Linked DNA regions of Homo sapiens: region 1 is linked to region 2. Evidence: promoter capture Hi-C in human tissues and cell types (Jung and others, 2019). All regions are on one chromosome and are shown on one strand. The core of a region is centred on a gene start or on the middle of the fragment in contact, and the rest is flanking DNA. Distances in the headings are between cores, read along the strand shown.

Region 1 (4,406 bases), core at 304-2,803, 250 kb after region 2:
CTTCAATTACTTGGAATTTCAAAAAATTGAGGTTACCTAGTAACAATGCACCAGTAGAACACAAAATACTCTGACTTTGTTTAGTCTGTGGGAAAAGAAAAATCTTTAAACTGGAAAGATTTTGTAGTCTTACAAAGATTACATTGGAATTGGAATTACTGTAGTTCGTTTTTCCCTCTAGGAGGGCAGCCATTTCTCTAAAAGTTGTGTAAAAGTTAAGACTAGGATTTCAAAATGCAAGCAGATGTTGATGAAGCATACGAAATGGGCAACTCCGTTTCTATTTCGGAGCCGCAGCGACTCCGACTTTGTGCCCCAACCCTGTAAAGGGCAAAACCTCATCCCTTCGGTGTAAACTTTCAAGAGAAGTGGGGCAGCACACTTTAGGCGTTTCACCAAGAGGCTGGCGACATGCTAGGTCAGGTTGTCCGGAGAATCGGGGCTGAATGGGAGAGATCTTGAGGGCAAGAGCCTCAGAGACCTTCAGGCACCGAGCTCGTGAAGGTTTCCAAGTGCCCCTCTCTAGCTGCTCCCAGGGGGAATTAGTGGTTGCTACAGTAGTTTAAGAGGGTCGTGGTTTTTCGCAACCCGGGCGGCGAGATGGCGCTTTGGTGTAAGCGAGGTAAGGTGGGTGCACTGGGATCTCCGCTCTCGGAGCCTCCAGCTGACTGCCACGCCGACTTGTGGCCAGACCTGCGACCTCCGCCCTCCCCCGCGGCGCCAGCCTCTGGAATCTGGCGTCGCCCCCACCTCTCCAGTCGAAGTGGGAGTCCCTCTGTGCGGGGCCTCGCCGCCATACCCAGGCCGAATGGGGGTGGGGAGGGAAGCTGGCAGAGCTCGGCCTCAGGATCCGCGCCCCTGTGGAAAGACCGCAGAGGGAAGCCGTTTCACCAGCCTCTCCCCTTCTGGGGTCTCGGGAAACACGCGGTAATTACCGAAGAACCCCGCACTCTGTGAGAGGCGAGGCTGCGGGGCTGCCGGGACGGTTTGAGGACCGGGCTCGGCCGAGGAGACTCCAACCTTCACCCTCCCTGGCCCCCGGTCCCACTTCCCGCCGTCTCCCGGCGCCGCCACTTCAGGTAGCCCACTCGGCCCGGCCTCTCCCCGCGCCCGGACCACCCCCCACGGGGTGCTCTCACTGCGCAGCGAGTCCCTCCGCTGCCTCCTCCCAGCCCAAAATGGCGGCGATGGCCGCCGAGCTTCTCGTCGCCTTCCTCAAAGGCCAAGGATCCCTCCGCGCCTGCTGCCCCGCCCACCTTAGCCGGATCTATTTTCTGCCCCGTAAAGATTAACGCCATCAATGAACTCTTTAATTGAGTTCGGAGAAGGCGGGTCCAGTTGTGCCTCCTCACAGCTAATCGTTGCCAAAAAAGCGAGAATATTGGCAGAAGGCTTGACCAATCAAAGAAGGCAGTGATGCGCGCGCGGTCTGCCCCCGCGCAAGGGTAGATGGGTTTTGGAGTCTCGGGTGTGGCTGTTGACGTTACAGGCCCTTGGATCGCTTTTCAGGCCAGAAGAACTACAATCCCCAGCAGGCACCGCGCGTCCAGGCTCTCTCTTCCCCCCCATCTTAGTGGCCTGAGCGGCTTGACCAGAGCTGCTGCAACTGCAGCAAGAGGTAGGGCTCAGGCGTTGGGAATTGCACCGACAGGCAGTCGCACAGAAAGGCACACAGATGTAGTGGTGTGCATAGCCCTTGACAGCGAATAGGTCAGTTCCACCTTTGCAAAACCTCTTTCCATGACTGTCTCCCTTCTTCCAAGAAATCCATCCTTATCCTAGTTGGGTTTCCCTCCCAGCTGCATGTAGTGCAAAGACCTCTTTCCCCTTTTCTCCTGTTTCCCTTTCTGAGAGGAAGGAGGGAGGCAGGCCAGGACCTTAGAGGAAAAGTCCTCAGCACTAGGCTGGCCCAGGTCCCAGCTGTGCTTCTGGCCTTTGGAGCCCAGCTTGGGGAGAAGGTTGGGGGTGCAGGGCTGCATCAAGATTGGGGCCACTGGAGACAGTGGGGAAGGACTCGTGAGCTTGCTCCATGTTCTCCCGTGGCAGCAGCAGCCCCGCTGCACTCCCAGCCTCCCCAGGCAGTCCTCCTTTGCCCCTTTGGTGGTTGGGGAAACAAAACTTACACCTGGCTTCCTGGCTGCCAACCTGGGCCTCGGTGACTTCCAGGAGGACAGTACAGGACATGAGTCCTGGTGAGGGACCCGAGGAGCAGGACAGAGAAGACGGCCCCTGAATCCCATTTGGCCCCTTGCTGGCTGGAGGTGTGAAAACCAGCGGTGGAGGCAGCCTTCGGGGCCTGCATTTGAGAATAAGGGTATGAAGGGCTGGGGTACAAAATGGCTGCCACTGCCTGGGCAAACAATTCTGGGCAGCCAGAGTATTCCTGACGTTCCTTCAGGATTTAGGTTTCTGTTGTTGTTCAAAGCAGGTGTCACTAGTTCCAGGCGTCTGCTGAAAGATTTGGAACAGAAGATGATGGCCACTCCGAACCAGACCGCCTGTAATGCAGAGTCACCAGTGGCCCTGGAGGAGGCCAAGGTAAGTCCCTGCCCTCCTGCCCACCCAAGCACCACGAGCACGGGTCCCACAGCTGAGATCCAAACTTCTTGTCCCAGATGTGTTGGTAGATTTGGAAAACCAGTATTTTGACGAATCAGTACTATGCACTAGGCAATAGGCCGGAATCCCAGTCTATGCTAGCTGATGAAATCTTAGTAACTGGCCGGGTGCGGTGGCTCACACCTGTAATCCCAGCACTTTGGGAGGCCTAGGTGGGTGGATCACCTGAGGTCAGGAGTTCGAGACCAGCCTGACCAACATGGCAAAACCCTGGCTGTACTGAAAATGCAAAATTAGCCTGGCATAGTGGTGGCGCATGCCTGTGATCCCAGCTACTTGGGAGGTTGAGGCAGGAGAATCGCTTGAACCCAGGGGTCGGAGGTTGCAGTGAGCCAAGATCTCGCAATTGCACTCCAGCCTGGGCGTCAGAGCGAGACTCCGTCTCAAAAAAAAAAAAAAAAAAAAAAAATCCTAGTAACCCTTTCAGGTAGGAATTATTTCCAATTCCCAGAAGCTAAGGTTCTGAGACCTGAAATACCTGTTCCAGAATCATGCTATCTACAAGCAACAGACCCAGGGTTTAAACTTAGGGCCTTCTGACAACAGAACATTGCCTTGACCTCAAGTCCAAAGAGGGCATGGAGGGACTGGGTTGAATGTTTACATTTTGTCCAGGCTAAGAACCAAGTCTGAAGCAGGAAGAAGAGTTTTTGGTTCATAATTTGGAATGGACCCAGGCAGGCAATTCACTTGAGACCAGAAGTTCAAGACCAGCCTGGCCAACATGGTGAAACCTCATCTCTACTAAAAATACAAAAATTAGCTGGGCATGGTGGCACATGCCTGTAATACCAGCTACTCAGGAGGCTGATGCACCAGAATCACTTGAACCCAGGATGCAGAGGTTGCAGTGAGCTGAGATCACACCACTGCACTTTAGCCTGGGCGACAGAGTGACACTCCATCTCAAAAAAGAAACAAAAACAAAAACAGGCCAGGCGCAGTGGCTCACGCCTGTAATCCTAGCACTTTTGGAGGCTGAGGTGGGTGGATCACCTGAGGTCAAGAGTTCAAGACCAGCCTGGCCAACATGGTGAAACTCTGTCTCTACTAAAAATACAAAAATTAGATGGGCGTAATGACAGGCGGCTGTAATCCCAGCGACTCAGGAGGCTGAAGCAGGAGAATCACTTGAACCCATGAGGCAGAAGTTGCAGTGAGCTGAGATTGTGCCATTGCACTCCAGCTTGGGCAACAAGAACAAAACTCTCTCAAAAAAAAAAAAATGCTGGAAGCCGGGTGCAGTGGCTCACGCCTGTAATCCCAGCACTTTGGGAGGCCGAGGTGGGCGGATCACCTGAGGTCACGAGTTCGAGACCAGCCTGACCAACATGGAGAAACCCCATCTCTACTAAAAATACAAAATTAGCCAGGCGTGGTGGCACATTTCTATAATCCCAGCTAGTTGGGAGGCTGAGGCAGGAGAATCGCTTGAAACTGGGAGGCGGAGTTTGCAGTGAACTGAGATCACGCCCCTGCACTCCAGCCTGGGCAACAGAGCGAGACTCCGTCTCAAAAAAAAACCAAAAAAACAAAAAAACCTGAAATTAGCCCGGCGTGGTGGTGCATGCCTGTAATCCCAGCTGCTTGGGAGGCTGAGGCATGATAATCACTTGAACCCAGGAGGCAGAGGTTGCACTGAGCTGAGATCATGCCACTGCACTCCAGCCTGGGTGACAAAGTCAGACTTTCTCAAAAATAATAATAATTTGTAATGGAGGTGGGGGTAGGATATAACCCACGAAAGAGGAGAGAGAAAGATCATATCAGGCCCTCAGAGGATGGCA
Region 2 (4,173 bases), core at 1-2,500:
CTGGAGGATGAGCAGATGTGGGCTTTTGCCTTAACTCATTACTAAGGTGCCTTATCAGGGTTGGTGCACCTGCTTCTGCTCACACAGGCGCATCCACAAGCATACACTCACTGTTGCACACACACACACACACACGCACATGTCCTCCTGCACTTGAAGGCACACATGCATGTCCTGTCAGCTCAGTGAAGCGCCATGCCCCTGGGGATTCCTCTGATCCCAGGTAACCACCTTTTGAAATGAATTTTATTATGACCACCGCTTCACAGCTGTGCAAGTCAAAGTAACTTGATGGGGGTCACAAGCTGGTGGCAGGCAGTCACCTGTGCTTTGCGCCCAGACCTGCCTGCTCTTTCCCTCACTTTCTTCACCCCAGAATCCAATCTCCCTCATGGACATCAACCTTCTCCGCTTCCAACTCCTCCTTTATATGGACACAGGCTCAGAATAGGTGAGCTCGCTGCCCACAGTCACAAAGCCCAGCCATGAATGAAACACAGGGGCCCCGCTGCTCCTGCACTGCTTTCCCCAGTAGGGAGGTGCTGAGGGGACCCTGGACTCCTGGCAGAAGGCATGCGGGCATCAGATCCCCGGGGCCCTGGGCCTGTTTCTGGTCCCTCCCATCATGTTGGGGGGCAAGGATAGTGCCCCATCAAGAGGTAGGGAGGCCCAGGGAGCAGGGAGGTTCGGCCCCTCCCTGAGACTTCTCGGGCACTCCTTCTTGGGGATTCAGCCCCTTCTGCTCACAAGGCCCCCCTTCCCCATCCCCTCCTCACTTCTGCCTCACAGTGGCCAGGTCCTGTGCCAGATTGTCCCTCTCAACCTCCAGCCGGGCGCTGTTGGCGGTGAGTTGATCGAGCCGCAGCCGCAGCTCTCGCAGCTCAGCCTGGTAGACGTCTGCCAGCTTGGTGGGCTCCTTGGCCCGCAGCTGGTTCAGCTCAGCAGCCAGCGCCTTGTTTTGCTGTTCCAGGAAGCGAACCTTCTCGATGTAGCTGGCAAAGCGGTCATTGAGCTCCATCATCTCTGCCCGCTCACTGGCCCGGGTCTCCTTGAAGCCAGCATTGAGTGCCCCAGCCAGGGAGAAATCCACCCGGGTCGGGAGTGGAGGGGGCATTCGAGCCAGGGAGAGGCGGGTGCCAGGACCCAGACGGCGGCCAGGAGCCAGGCCCCCCACCATCATCTCCCCTGAGGAGACGTAGGAGCGGCGAGCAGCGGAGGTGATGCGTCTCCTCTCCATCCTGCTCTGGCTCTGCTCGCTCCTGGGATGCGAGGGCTTTATGAAGGAGTGGGCTAGACTGGCGATGCCCGGGTGCCCCTGGCAACACCCCCTGGCATAGCCTGAGGGGGTGGGGTTGGGCCGCAGCCCAGCTATGGGGAGAGCTCCCCTCACCCCACTGAGGTCACTGTGCCCAGAGGCAGAGCTTCCTGGGCACGCCAACTCCTGCATGAGGCAGGTGGTACCTGGAGCCAGACCATGGGTCTGGGGCCCTGACCGCTGAAGCAAGAGGACCCTCTCTCTAGGAAGGTGGGTCAAGAAAGGGTTGGTTGGACCATGATGAATACTTACAATTATTATGCATCAATTAAAAAGGAAGGAAAGGGCTGAGTGGGGTGGCTCATGCTTGTAATCCCAGCACTTTGGGAGGCTGAGGCTGGAGGATTGCTTGAGCCCAGTAGGTTGAGGCTGCAGTGAGCTGTGTTTGCGCCACTCCAGCCTGGGCAACAGAGAGAGACCTTGTCTCACAAAAAAAAAAAAAAAAAAGGGAAGGAAGGGCTGTACCAGATGACCTCTGACCTGCTTTCCAACTTTTTGATTTCATAACCCAGGCATTATCTCACTCAGCTGTAAGTGCCTGCAAGGTGCTGGGAATTTGGCGAAGAATGAACCTGTTCTGTACCCTCAAGGGCCACCTCATTTCCTACTAGGCCTCATTCCCAGCAGACTCCTGGAGTCCTTCCCTTGAACACAGATGTCCCACATTCCTGCTCTCTGCCCATTCATTCCCTGGAGTTCTGGGGCTGGGGGCTGGGATTGGACACCAGCCCTTTGTCTAAGGGTCAATCATGGCCTCTATGTGGCAGTGGAGGTCCTGATAGGGCAAGAGGGGGCCGGCACTCTCTTGCCTTATCAGGACTTTAGCCCCTGGATCTGTCCCTCCAGGTCACCCCTTCCTTGTCTGGCCTCCCTGTGCCTCTCTCCCAGAGACCAGGCCTTGACAGCTCCACAAAGCCGTTACACATGAGCTGGCTGTGCTGGCTCGTCTTTATTCCTGCAGCGCCCCGTTTCCCTGGCCACCCCTCCGTCTCCCACTGGAGATTTATTTCCTCGAGTTCCCACACATCAGCCTGGAGAGATGGGAAGAACCTCTGGGGATGGATGGGTTTGGAAACGCTGGAGCCACTGGGCCCAACTAGGAGCCTGAGACCTGGGCCCTGTTGTCCCTGGAGACTTCAGGTCCATCTACGCCCTCCACTCTGGTCCCACAGGGTCAGAACCCTGCCCAGTCCCCTCACCCATTTGTGTCCTTGGACTTCTGGGAAGCAGACAGCCCTCCTCTCCCCCCCTGCCACCCACTGTCCATGCCTGGGCATCCCCTGATCCCCTTTCCTGGGCACAGGCTGAATAGAGCCTTGTTCTCCACCGCCGGTGGCGCCACACAGCAAGGGCAGCCCCTAGGGGGCTGTGCTGCTTTTATCCCAAGATGCCAGGCTGTCAGGCTGGGGTGCAATGCAAGCCCCCTGCTCAATGGGCTTCTCGGAAGGCATTTGAGGGGGGCTGGGGTGCGGCGGGAAGCAGGCACTGTGCCCACCCCGAACATTGTGTCTGTGCCAAGGTGAGTCATTCACTGGGCATGAAGAGGAGGCCCTGGGGGGCGGCCAGCCCAATGCTGCCAGGTCTGCTTGCAGACAAGGCCTGGCTGTCTGCCTCCTCCCCAGCTCACAGAGCCAGCTCAGGCCCCCGAGCCTCTGTCAGAGCAGCGTCCCCTACTCCACACCAGGATATGTTCTTTTTTTTTTTTTTTTTTTTTTTGTCTTTTGAGACAGGGTCTCACTGTTGCCCAGGCTGGAGTGCAGTGGCGCAACCACGACTCACTGCAGCCTCAACCTCCCAGCCTTAAGTGATCCCCTCACCTCAGCCTCCTGAATAGCTGGGACTACAGGTGTGTGTCACCACACGTGGCTGATTTTTTAACTTTTTTTGTAGAGATAGGGTCTTGCCATGTTGCCCAGGCTGGTCTAGAACTTCTGGGCTCAAGTGATCCTTCCACATCAGCCTCCCAAAGTGCTGGAATTACAGTTGTGCGCCACTGCGCCCAGCCCAGGGTATGCTCTGCATTTGGACATGTGATGGACAGACTGCCTCCTGAGGTCTCCCTCTGTGAGTCCCAGCACAGAGAGGGAGGTGGGAGCTCCTTAGGCTCTAGTCACATCTGACCTGGGCGTAAGCAGTGACATAGGAAAGAGCATCTTGAAGACGGGGTGAGCGCCCAGTGACCTTTGATCCTGCTATGAACTGGGGACCTGGGGAAGGACAGGAGGCTTTAAAGGAAGAGCAAGGCTGGGCATAGTGGCTCATGCCTGTAATCCGAGCACTTTGGGAGGCTGAGGTGGGCGGATCGCTTGAGTCCAGGAGTTCGAGACCAGCCTGGGCAATGTGGTGAAATTTTGTCTGTACAAAAAATACAAAAAAATTAGCCAGGTATGGTGGTGCACTACTGTGATCCCAGCTATTCGGGAGGCTGAGGTGGGAGGATCACCTGAGCCCAGGAGGTGGAGACTGCAGTAAGCCAATGTCGCATCACTGCACCCCAGCCTGGGTGACAGAGACTCTGTCTCAATAAATAAAAAAATAAAATAAAATAAACAAAATAGAAAAGGAAGACTGGGGATAAGCTCTTGTCTGAACTCTGTCTCATCTCTGTGGCTAGGAGTGGCCCGCCTTTCCAGGCTGCCCAGCAAGTCACAGCATGTAGCCTTCCCTTTTGGTTCAAGGGAAGTCTAGTTAAAATAAGGGCAAAGCTGTCCTAGAGAGAAAAGATGTGATGAGCAGGAGGTGCCTGTCATTGAAGCTCAGTGAACTGTCCCTGTGTATGTGAGACACAAGCTTGTTTCAGCATCAGCAGTTGGAGTCCCCCAGCTTTTGCCATCAGCCACCTCCGTGGACCCCTGTCA

Evidence for each region. The method cuts DNA at HindIII sites, captures the fragments that hold promoters and counts their contacts. A contact is called where the count stands out against the background at its distance.
Region 1: a contact is called between the fragment with the promoter of HEXIM2 here and the fragment with the promoter of GFAP in region 2, in 1 of the 25 tissues and cell types used here (lymphoblastoid cells).

Annotation. Positions count from the first base shown.
Region 1 is chr17:45,160,322-45,164,727 of GRCh38, forward strand. It overlaps HEXIM2 (HEXIM P-TEFb complex subunit 2), which reads left to right and starts at 1,554. Exons shown (of 4, transcript NM_001303441.2): 1 at 1,554-1,710; 2 at 2,167-2,314; 3 at 2,429-2,538. The coding sequence starts at 2,473. It overlaps HEXIM2-AS1 (HEXIM2 antisense RNA 1), which reads right to left and starts at 1,217. Exons shown (of 3, transcript NR_186789.1): 1 at 1,140-1,217. RefSeq lists enhancers at 189-804, 805-1,420, 1,074-1,303, 1,421-2,036, 1,454-1,653 and 1 more. The HindIII fragment of the contact is 41,438 bases long and covers 1-4,406 here.
Region 2 is chr17:44,914,250-44,918,422 of GRCh38, forward strand. GFAP (glial fibrillary acidic protein) reads right to left here and starts at 1,251. Exons shown (of 9, transcript NM_002055.5): 1 at 777-1,251. The coding sequence starts at 1,237. The HindIII fragment of the contact is 9,658 bases long and covers 1-4,173 here.